Linked DNA regions of Homo sapiens: region 2 is linked to region 1. The links are contacts of gene promoters, found by promoter capture Hi-C in blood cells and fetal thymus (Javierre and others, 2016). All regions are on one chromosome and are shown on one strand. Each heading gives the region's core, a stretch centred on a gene start or on the middle of the fragment in contact. The rest is flanking DNA. Distances are from core to core; before and after follow the strand shown.

The links. Contacts are between HindIII fragments. The CHiCAGO score rates a contact against its expected background, and 5 or more counts as called.
Region 2: a contact is called between a fragment that was not itself captured here and the fragment with the promoter of VAMP2 in region 1, in 1 of 17 cell types (total CD8 T cells). The highest score is 5.2, in total CD8 T cells.

The regions. Positions count from the first base shown.
Region 1 is chr17:8,159,631-8,165,336 of GRCh38, forward strand. It overlaps VAMP2 (vesicle associated membrane protein 2), which reads right to left and starts at 3,318. Exons shown (of 5, transcript NM_014232.3): 1 at 3,248-3,318; 2 at 2,619-2,739; 3 at 1,978-2,136; 4 at 1,843-1,894; 5 at 1-1,241. The coding sequence starts at 3,249. The coding sequence ends at 1,225. RefSeq lists an enhancer at 2,486-2,535 and silencers at 2,646-2,755, 3,046-3,235, 3,396-3,495, 3,626-3,685. The HindIII fragment of the contact is 9,788 bases long and covers 1-5,706 here.
Region 2 is chr17:7,475,055-7,480,760 of GRCh38, forward strand. It overlaps ZBTB4 (zinc finger and BTB domain containing 4), which reads right to left and starts at 4,577. Exons shown (of 4, transcript NM_001128833.2): 1 at 4,402-4,577. RefSeq lists silencers at 3,884-3,933, 4,194-4,653, 4,674-4,933. The HindIII fragment of the contact is 1,246 bases long and covers 1,541-2,786 here.

The sequences.
Region 1 (5,706 bases), core at 2,068-4,567:
CCCCAAATTGGGGAGGAGGGTTTTCAGTCCAACCCCCAGCAGGGGTGAGGCCAGAGATTTCAGGCAGGAATTGGGGGGATTCTCTGCCCTGCCCCACTCCTCCCCAAGGCAGTGATGACCCCCACACACACACTGGTAGCCACCCCTCTCACAAGAGATCAATTGTGGCCAACCCCCAACTCTCCTGGTGGGAGGAGGAGGTGGATCAGGCAGATGGGAGGGAAACCCCATGGGAATGTCAGTTGAGTACCCCACATGAAAACTGGGGAGCAGGAATGTAGGGAGAAACCCGAAGTGGCAGAATTATTGGTCCATCATAACATACTGAACTTCAAGACACTTACATACCAGCTGGGGGAGGGAGAGGAGGGTACAAGAGGTTTGGAAAATGAGGGTAAGGGAGGCAAACTGGACTAGAGGGGCTAGGAGGAGGCAATGCTGGGGACCAGAGCAGCCTGGTTCCCCAAAAGCCCAGGCTCCCCACCACCTGCGAGTAATGTCGTGCAAATGAAAATGTGATACAAGAACTAATGGGGACTAACTCCTCAGTAAAAAAAGAAACACAGGTTGAGAGAAGAGTGATGGAACAAAAAGAAATGGAAAGGGATAGCAGTATGTAATGATACGCTAATTAACATGCTGGACGCTCCCAAAGACCTTGGGATTCTTAGGACCAAGTGGGGCCAGTCTCAGAGCCTCCCAATGGATACAAAGAAGATGTACCTAAGGAAGCCTGGACAGGTGCTGTTGTTTTTTTTTTTTTTTTTTTTTTTTTGAGGGCGGGGCAGAGGGAGCATGACGGGGAGAGTGAGGAGGAAAGAGGAAAGGAAGGCCAGGGTGGGAGGAAGGATCAGCTAAATCTGAGGGAAGAAGAAGGAAAGGAGAGGGACTATTGCATAGCAGATGCAAATGAAGGGACTTGGGGCTAGTCAGGAAGAAAGGGAAAGGGAAGGAAGGCAAGAGAGAGGGGTGAAGGGAACCTCAGGAAGGGGTGTTAAGGACAACCGGAAAAATCATCTAGTAATAAAACTACAAACAGACCAAATATATATAATATTATATATGTATAAATAACAGCTGGCTATTTACAGGGGGACACACACACGGACACACACACACACGGATCCAGGGGAGTGGGGGCTGAAAGATATGGCTGAGAGGTGGAGGAACGGCTGAGGGTTGGGGGAGAGGCCCTTCTCTAGGCAGGGCAGACTCCTCGGGGATTTAAGTGCTGAAGTAAACTGTGGAGAGAGGGGAAGAAGATGAGGAAGAGGGAGAGGGGAGAGAAAGAGAGAGAACAAGAAAGCAGTGTGTCAGGCCTGGCCCTGCTCCAATCCTCCCCACTCCCCAGCTGGCTGACACCCTCTCTTGGACTCAGTTTTTCCATCTACAAAGCAAGGGGCTAGACAGGTAGGTTCTGAGGTCCCTTCCGCTCCATGGTATGGCCTTGAAGCCACAGACCCTAATCCTCTGAGCCTCTGAGACCGCAAGCTCTCAAATAATGGGGTGGTTGGCTTCCTGGTCATGTCTCAAGCCCCTGGTCCTTTCCTTTCTCCCACTCCTCAATTCCAGGGTTCTCAGACTGGGCTCTTAGGCCTAAAGGGTCCTCAATGGATACACCAGCTTTCCTATTTCCAAATGTTAACAAGACTGCCAAGAACTAGGCAAAATGCAGGCTAAATAACATCAAAGTTTTTGGCTCTAGATGAATCAGAATTGCCATTAGCAGCTATATGTGTTTTTGGCTGAAGAGTAAAAACTAGATTAATGACCTTCAAAACCTAGAATCCACTGGGGAAACCTCTCCAGGGAAAGGGCCCCGGCCATTCTCACCCTACTCACCTATGATGATGATGAGGATGATGGCGCAAATCACTCCCAAGATGATCATCATCTGGGGGTGAGAGGCGAGGATCAGTAAGACAAACTATGATACCCCATTCACCCACCTGTCCTCCTTCCTGTCCCCACCCTTACCTTGAGGTTTTTCCACCAGTATTTGCGCTTGAGCTTGGCTGCGCTTGTTTCAAACTGGGAGGCCCCCGCCTGGAGTGCATCTGCACGGTCGTCCAGCTCCGACAGCTTCTGGTCTCGCTCCAGGACCTTGTCCACGTTCACCCTCATGATGTCCACCACCTGGGAGAAGGGCCCACGAGGCAGGGGGGTGTGCCAAGGCCCACCTCAGTGAGGGCAATCCTCAAACATGTGCCCACCGTGCCACACATGGAACATGCACCCTGATACTGCCAGGTTAACATGCCAAGGACACACAGAACATGCCTAGCACACCTGGGGACATGCAAGGAGCACACATCAGGGGCATGCTGGTGACATCTCAGATGTCATAGCAACACCCTCCCTCTATGGAACCTCAGGCGCTCTGTCCATCACCAGAGCACACCTGCCCAGGCTGGCACACCCCAGGCTAGCAAAGCTGATTAACACCCCCAGCGCCCTTCCAAGTGCGTGCTGACAGGGAGACAGGGATGGGGCATGGTATCTTTGTCCGCAAACCCACAGGCGTGAACTGTCATCACTCCCAAACCAACATGGGCCCCTACACCTATACGCCAACCCCCAGGGTCCCTCCTACTGCTTTTGACTCCCCCCACACTCACCTCATCCACCTGGGCCTGGGTCTGCTGCAGTCTCCTGTTACTGGTGAGGTTTGGAGGGGGTGCAGGGGGACCACCCTCCCCAGCCGGGGCAGCAGGGGGGGCCGTGGCAGCGGTAGCAGACCTGAGGAGCAGGGACGGATTAAGACCCAGGGCCTGCAGCCTCCCGGCCCCGCAGCCAGGGCTCCGCCCATCCACCTGTCCATCCTCGTCCCTCCAGTCCTCCTTTTCGGGAGGAAGGCCACCCGATGTAAGCCCTGGTCTCGGTCCAGCCCTGCCGCCGATGAGCTGCGTGACCTTGAGCGAGGCCCCCCCGGCCTCAGTTTCCCCGCCTGTCAACTGAGGGCGACCTCACAGATGCGATCCGGGTCGACCCGAAAAGACAGGCGGCCGCGGTGACAGGGGCGGGGAGGGGCAGGAGGACACTGGGTCCGCTCCTTCCCGCGGCCATCGCCCGAGCCGGCCAGCCCGGGACGCGGGGCTCCTCGGCCGCCCGCGCGCAGTCACCGGCTTGGGCCTGGCCCCGGGGCGCGGGGAACGCAGGAGAGACCCCGGGCACTCCCGACGGCCGGTTGCCAAGGGCGGCGGCCGGCGCAGGGAAGCGCGGTGAGGGTGGCGGGCGGCCGACTCACATGGCGGGGGCAGCGGGTGGAGGACTTGGCAGCGGCAGTGATGGCGGCGGCGGCTCGCGCTGGCTCCGACTGGCGCTGGCTGCCCGGGACGGAAAGATGGCGGCCGCGCGTCACCCGCATCCGGGCACTGCGGGCGGGGGCGGGGCGCCGCGGGAGACGCGTCGCGAGCGGGGCCGCGGGGGCGGGGCGCTGCGGGGCGCTGCGGGGCGGGGGTCGTGCCGGGCAGGACCACGGGCCCCGCGCCACCATGCCCCGGCAGCTCCCTCGGCACTCGCGGGACCCCAAGGCGGGCTGCTGCGGCTTCCCCAAACCCACCGCCACCCCACCCTGTCTGACCACAGCCCCCCCAAACCGCCTGCCGCCTGCCCCTTAGAGCACAACGCAGCCTGGCCCTACACCTAACCCCCAGACCACTCCCTCAATCGTGAACCCAGTAAACCAGCCTGCACCCCACACAGCCCAAGGTCTTGCCCCGCGCCCAGGTCCCAGCACCTAGCGACCCGCCTTCAGCACTTGGAATGGGCTGGAGTTGGGAAATCAGAGAGGGCCAGTGCAGGTGCTGGGGCAGTATCGAGAGCGGGGACCTTACTGCTAGGGTGGAGAGGAGTGGGGGAGATTGGTCCCAACCCATCACCGCTGGTGGATGTCTCAGAGGAAGCCTGGGGTCCCTGGCCACTGGGTAGGAGGGTAGGAAGAAAAGATGAGGCAGGCTCTTCCCGCCCAAACAAGTCCAGGGGGCGGAGGACGGGGGAGTGTCTACAGGGTGTGGGGAGGGGGCTGCCCCGCCTCACGATTAAGGTTCAGACTAGGGGTACTTAACCGCTGGAGCAGGCCCGACTGAGGTGGGGTGAGCTGAGGACCCCGAGGAGGAGGGCACAAGGCTGCCGGGGGTGATGGGGGCAGGGGCTGCTTCACGTGGTGGCTGCTGACTGGCCAAGACCTAGCTTTGCCCCAGGCTTAGGTCAGCGACCCGACTGCAGGAAAGGGCTCAGGCTTTGGTCCCAGGCACAGGGCCTGGGCCAAAAAAAAAAAAAAAGCCTTTTTTCTTTTTCTCTCATTTTTTTTTCTTTAGTAGTAGGCACAGTGGGCACAGGTTACAAGGTGCTGCTTTACATGCGTATTCGCCTCGCAGGTGTGACCTTGGACCGTTGCCCTCCTCTCTCTGGACCCCAAATACATTGCATATGTAGGTACTAAATCCATATTTGTTAAATGGCTTGATGTGGATAACATAGGAGATTATCCCTGGCTGGTCTCCATTAGGCCCTCTAAGCACACCCAGCAGCTGTATACACTCCCACCCAGCTTGTCAGAGAAGATGGGACCAGGGGAGCTGTCGCTCTGGTGGAGTGCAGGGGGTCAAAGCAAGCCTCAAGGGTGCAGGAGGCATTTTAGGCGAGGCCCTTTGGCCCTGGGGTGGGGGTGCTTACTACATCCCTGGAAGGTGCAGGGAGGCTGATGGCCTTGATCTCTAAGACAAACAGGAACCAGCTTCCTCCCTCCCCCACCCTGGCTTCCCAGGGCCTCCGGGTGTGAGATCCTCCCCCACTGCAGTGCCCCACCCGCTCCCCACAGAAGCCCGGAGAGTGGCTCTGTCACCAGAGGTGTCATTTCCCAGCTGTCTGTGGGAGGTGAGTGAGCAGGGAATGTGTGTGCTGGGTGTGGGAACTCAGCCCAATCTAAGAGAAGATACTCTTGGCTTCCTCCCCCTCAGAGGAGCAGCCGCGTCCCTGGTCCTTGTGCACTGACAGTCCCGGGTGGCTCAGCCTATGTGATGAGAAAGAAAAGAGCAGCTTCCACGGGGGTCTCAGATCATGCTGTGAGATGCTGGCTCCTGCTTTTTGGTCTTCAAATGATTCCTCTTTCTAGTCAGAGAACAAAGATGCCAAATTCCAGCCTTTTAAGTTCAAAACCCTCAGTGTCTGTCAGGGTATAAATAAGACATGGAGGATTGGAAGAGGCAGGCACAGGAAGCCCTTCCGCCCCCAGTTGGACACCCTGCACTAACTGAGGGGAGCCTAGTGCAGAGCCAGACAAGACATTTGATGCTGGTTTGGGGGTGATGTGGAAGGGACAGAGCCCCAGATACACGGTCAAGGCCAGGGGTCGTGCTATTGCTATTGGATCGTGGGGACGGCAGCAGCAGAGTAGAAATGAGGGCATGTGTGACCCACGGAGATGAAGGGCCCAGGAGGATTCATCTCAGAAAGAGGACTCTCATCCAGCAGCCCCTTCCCACCCCACCCCACCTAGGCTGTGGCTCAGAGGAACTCCCCAAATTTAGATCAATGGTGGAGGTGGGAGAAGGAGTGGGATGACGGAGTTCACCTGGAAGTGACTGAGAGAATGTTTTCTGCAGGCAGGTAGAATGGAGACCCAAATAGAGGTAAGTTGAACAATAGAAAAATAATGTATTTGCATAACTCAGATTTGGCTTCTACATGTACTGGCTTCGGGAA
Region 2 (5,706 bases), core at 914-3,413, 690 kb before region 1:
ACGCCTGTAATCCCAGCACTTTGGGAGGCCAAGGCAGGTGGATCACCTGAGGTCAGGGATTGACCACCTGCCTAGCCAACATGGTGAGACCAGCCTGGCCAACATGGTGAAACTTGGTCTCTACTGAAAATAAAAAATTAGCTGGGCGTAGTGGCGGGCGCCTGTAACCCCAGCTACCCGGGAGGCTGAGGCAGGAGAATCACCTGAACCCGGAAGGCGGAGGTTGCAGTGAGCCAAGATCATGCCATTGCATTCCAGCCTGGGTAACAAGAGAGAAATTCCGTCTCAAAAAAAAATTAAAAGAAACCATAAATAAGTTGACCACTCTGGAGTCCTCACAATTTGCCTCATACTCTTCTTGGGGCCTCACACACATTACCTCATTTAATGATATTCTCAGTACAGCCACCCACAATAGGTTTTATATTATCCTGTTGCCCAGGCTGGAGCGCAGTGGCGTGATCTCGGCTCACTGCAACCTCCGTCTCCTGGGTTCAAGCAATTCTCCTGCCTCAGCCTCCAGAGTAGCTGGGATTCCACGCCCAGCTAGTTTTTTTATTTTTAGTAGAGACAGGGTTTCTCCATGTTGGCCAGGCTGGTCTTGAACTCCTGACCTCAGGTGATCCACCTGCCTTGGCTTCCCAAAGTTCTGGGATTACAGGCATGGGCCACTGCGCCCGGCCATATTATTCTAATTTTACAGAAGAGGAAACCGAGGCTCAGAGAGGGATATACCTTACTCGAGGTCGCACAGCTTGTAAGCAGCAGTCAAGATTCGAATCCAGGCCCAGCTGACCCCAGATGCTCAATCTTTCCCTCTGCCATACTGCTAGACCTGGCCCTGAAGAGGCCTATGGCCCGCCAGCTGGTTACATAAACCACCGCACAAGGTCTCACGTGCTAAGTGCTAAATGTGTCATGTCTGACTCCACCCTTTCCCTCACTTCCACATCCAGCAGTCATCAAGTGTGGCTGAAATCGCCGCCGAGCTTGGGAATGGCTCTGGAAATCTTCCCTTCGATAGCTCAGGTCCTTGTTAACACTCACGTGGTCCAAGGTTATGGCCTCCCAGCTATCCCCTGGCCTCCAGGCTTACCTTCCTCCATCCAGCCCTCCTCCCCCTGAGGGTCAACGTCCCTAACCACAGTTCAGGACTATCACTCCTGGGCTCAAAACCTCCACTGGTCCCCACTGACTCTAGAAGAAAGTTCAAATTCTTCTACCAGGCAGTCAAGGGCTCTGGTCTAGCTCCAATCTTCCTTTTTAATCTTGCCTTGTGTTATCCTCTTCAAACACACAGTACTCAGCGTGAGCCAGGCGTGATGGCAGATACCCATAGTCCCAGCTACTCAGGAGGCTGCAGCTAGAGGATTGCTTGAGCCCAGGAGTTTGAGTCCAGCCTGGGCAATATATTGAGACCCAGTTTCTAAACAAATGAACAAAACCCCAGACACCCAGTGTGCTCTCCAGCTTCTACATGACCCACACCTTCATGCCTTTGCCTGTGCTGGCTTGTTCTGCCAGAAATGCTCTTTCCCCAAGCTTGTCAAAATCCCTCCAAAACGTTAAGATCTGACTCCAAGGCCACCTCCTTCTTGGCCCTCCCTGATCCACAGGATGAGAACGATCATTCCTTCCTCTGACTCATCAACCTTTTGTGCTCCTATGGCCAGCATCCACCTTACACAGCAGCAGAGACTCAGGTTCTCATGCCCTCAGCTGGGGATCCCTGAGCATCCGGGTCTTCTGAAATGGACTGCTGCAAATGCTAAGTTCTGCAGCAACTGGGGAGAAGAGTGTTGGAGGGAGTTGCACAGAAAGGACCATCCACTGAATGTTCCAGAAGGCAGCAGAGTACAGTAGTTAAGAGCACAAGATCTTCAACCTGATTGCCCGGGTTCAAATACAGCTTCACCTCTTACTAGCTAAGTGACTTGGGGCAGATTACTTAACTTCTCTGGACCTCAGCTGCCTCACTTGAAAAAGGGAGGTAGAGTGCCTACTTCAGGGTGTTGTTCTGAGGACAGAGTGGCCACATATAAGTGCCCTGAGGACAGGCTGGTGCACGGTCAGTGCTAAGCAAGTGTGTGCTGCCATTATTATCAGCGAAGCCCCAAGAAGGGAATTCCCAGTCCTGGGGGAGGGCTGACAGGGGCTGGCATAGGCACAGCCCCCAGACTATAGCCACTTTCCGGGTCCGTTTCCCATGTGCTTTTGGAAGATACGCAGGGCAGACAATCAGCCCCATTCTGCAGATGAGGAACTGAGCTTCCTTCAGATCAAGTGCCAGTGAGGGAATGGTAAAGACGCCAGAGCTCCTCAGCCCTGGACCATGGCTCCTTTCTCTTCACCAGACCGTCACTGTGCACCTGTTGAGCAGGCTCCCACGGCAGCCACCCCTTCCCAGCCCCCCATGCCGGAGGGCCTGTCCGCAGCACCCTCCCTTCCCCCACGTACACACATCCTTCCAGTGGGGCCGGGCACAGTAGACAGTGGTGTGCAGGCTTGGAATGCACTTGCACACACACCCCTAGAAGGGCCCAGTCCCCAAAGGTGAGGAAAACCTGTTCTGAGGAATCTGCCTAGTGAGCGAATTCTGTTCTGAGGCCCTTCCACCGTCGCAGGAGTGGGGCCCAGTGTGCGTCAGAGATACCCACAAGGGGGGCAGAGAGAGGGAGAGGGTGAAGCAGGAGGAGGCTGAAAACTTCACGTTTCTTTTTTCCATTTTAGTGACAAGAGTCACACCCAGCCTTTACATAAACATGGCCAAGGAGCCTCTCTGTCTAAGCTTACTTCCCTTGTGGCCGCCCAGCCTCTCCTCCGGGTGACCCTGACACGCTGGGCAGGCTCATGAGGGGCAAACATACAGACCCTGCAAAGATTAGCTGGGCCATCTGACAACACCCATGCCTCCCGCCGGCCTCCATGCGCTACCCTGCATTTATCTCCCGCCTTCCTCATACCAAATCCCCTCCGCAGCCCCACCGCCACTTAAGCACACAGACGGCAGGCACGCACACACAGCCTGCTTGCGGCTGGCCTCTTGGGTCTGAGGCCCACACTGCCCTTGTCACGCCACCTCCCTCCCCACATGTGTTTTCTGACCAGTTTGCCTCCCAGCTCAGCAGCCCAGACAGGCTCCTACAAACAACGTCACAAAAGAATCCTGTGGAGAATGTTGCAAACACACAACCTTCCCCTCGCTTGGCTGCCCATGATCCCATAAACACAACTGGCGCATTCCACCTCGAGCCCCTCACACCAGTGCCAACTGACCCACAGGCCCCTGAGACATACCCCGGGGTTCCTCGCTCCTCTCATGATCTTTGGGATCTGAGTTCTAGACGCGCAGCCCCCATGCAACGCGCTCATCACAGACACGCAAACCCATCCATCGCCCTCTTCACCACTGGACCACACCTCAGCAGGGCCACAGAAATGGGACCCAGACGTGACGCCTTCTGACTCAAAGGCCCACAACCGCCCCCTCCAAAAGGGCACATACACTGCATCCTGGCACCCTCCGCAACACATACAGCATGCCAGCTCTGCAGAAAACAGTTCATAAACAGGTCATAGGTGCAGCACAAGACACACATGCGAGAAAACACATGCTGTAGAAAACATACAGCCCCACATCGAACAAACTCTGCACCCAGCATGCTGTGCCCTGCTCAGAATACCCATCTGTCACCCAAAGCCACAGGGCTCGTCTTGTAACTCTGCCCCACAACACTGGACACCCTTCCTGGCTTTCTATCTCCATGGCCCAGGGAGGGCCCTACCCAGACCCCTGGCTGCCAGCAAACGGTGGTGCCCAGGAGAGGTTTACCTTGCCCCACCACACAGCACAAGACACACGATCTCCAAGACTCACAGCCACAACCCTGCCCCGACGGCGCGGCGGTTCCGGGGCCCCAGCTCGCCCTGCGCACCCCGCACACCCCAACTCTGGGGCGCTCGGCGGCCCACCCCTCCCCCTCTCTGCCTGGCTCCTACGCCATCACCCTCCCAGCAGCTTGCAGCGCTTGCCCGGGCTCACACCCGCCCCACCCCACCCCCAATCTGCCCCACGGGGGGAGGGGGCCATTAGGCTGCAGAATTAACCCTTCAAAGAGGGAGTGAGCACCTCCCCTTCCACGGCCCCAGGCGATCGCGTCCCACGGCCGCCCCTCGCTCGGACGCCATACCAGGGCCCCCTTAGTCGCCCCCCAGCGTCGTGCGCGCCCGGGGGCGGGGCCAGGCTCAGCCCCCGACCCCTGCGCCCCCAGGTCAACCCCAAAGGAGAGCGGTCTGGGCGCGGGGCGCGGTCGGGGCTCCCGCAGCGCCGGGCAGCGGAGAGGGGGCCTGGCAGTTGGCTCCGGTCCGCCCTGGCCCTGCCCAGTTCGCCCCAGGGCCCACCTGACTGCGATGGCGCCGCGTCCGCCAGGCCCGGCTCATCACCGTGGCCGCCCCCGGCCGCTCCGGTTTTGCCCGCCTCCAGCTCCGGCTCCGGCTCCAGCTCCGGCCCTGGCCCCCCCAGCGCCTGGCCCCGGCCCGGCCCCGCTGCCGCCGCCGCCGCCGCCGCTGACATCATCGGCTCCCCCCGCCCCGGTCCTACCCCCACCCCCACCCCCGGAAACAGTCCCCCCCCAGCGCCGCCGCCGCCGCCGCCGAGAGGAGGCCGGCGCAGCGCAGCCGACACCGACACAAAGCTCCGAGCGCCCGACGGCCTTCCCCAGGACTGACCCCCGCGGCATGACACTGCGCCGCGCTGGGCCACCGGGCGGGTGGACACCGAGCGGGGCGCGGGCCGGGCTGCAGCATCCCGGCAGGGGCGCAAGACCACCGACCCCCAGGGAAAGGGCTCCCTCCGCCCTTCCTCCTGCACGCCCTTCACTCAGCGGTGCACACTGCCTGAAAGCATAACACACAGGCTCTCAGGGTGCAGACATGACATGGCAGACTCATAATCAGGCCCGGTGGGACTCACAGACCCAGGGTCGGCACACTCAAAGAGGGCCAGCCCTGGACACACACACACACCCTCTCCAGGAATGCGCAGGAAAGCTCAGCAGGCCGCGGAAAAAGAAGGCCCTGGCCCTGCATACGGGGCACACACGAACGACCACCAGCGCAAATGAACACATGAAGCTGGCTGGGTACTTTGTCCCCACCAGCAGATAGATCCACATCTGTATACTTGAACATAAATGCAGAGGCCTTGGTGTCGGCCTCTGGGGACAGCATCAACAAAACACCAGGTGGAAGCACACACAGAAAAAACACATTCCTGAAACTCCACAGGGACAATCCCAAGAACTCCTCCCTGGTGCTGGAAAATTAAAAACTAAGGAGATGGAGGAGCCAGGGTTCACAGCTCCTTGCCTTAAAACCTCTCTGAGGCTGGGCGCGGTGGCTCACGCCTGTAATCCCAGCACTTTGGGAGGCCGAGGTGGGCGGATCACGAGGTCAGGAGATCGAGACCATCCTGGCTAACACGGTGAAACCCTGTCTCTACTAAAAATACAAAAAAATTAGCCGGGCGTGGTGGCGGGCGCCTGTGGTCCCAGCTACTCGGGAGGCTGAGGCAGGAGAATGGCGTGAACCTGGGAGGCGGAGCTTGCAGTGAGCCGAGATCTCGCCACTGCACTCCAGCCTGGGCGACAGAGACAGACTCCGTCTCAAAAAAAAAACAACAACAAAAAAACCTCTCTGAAACCATGC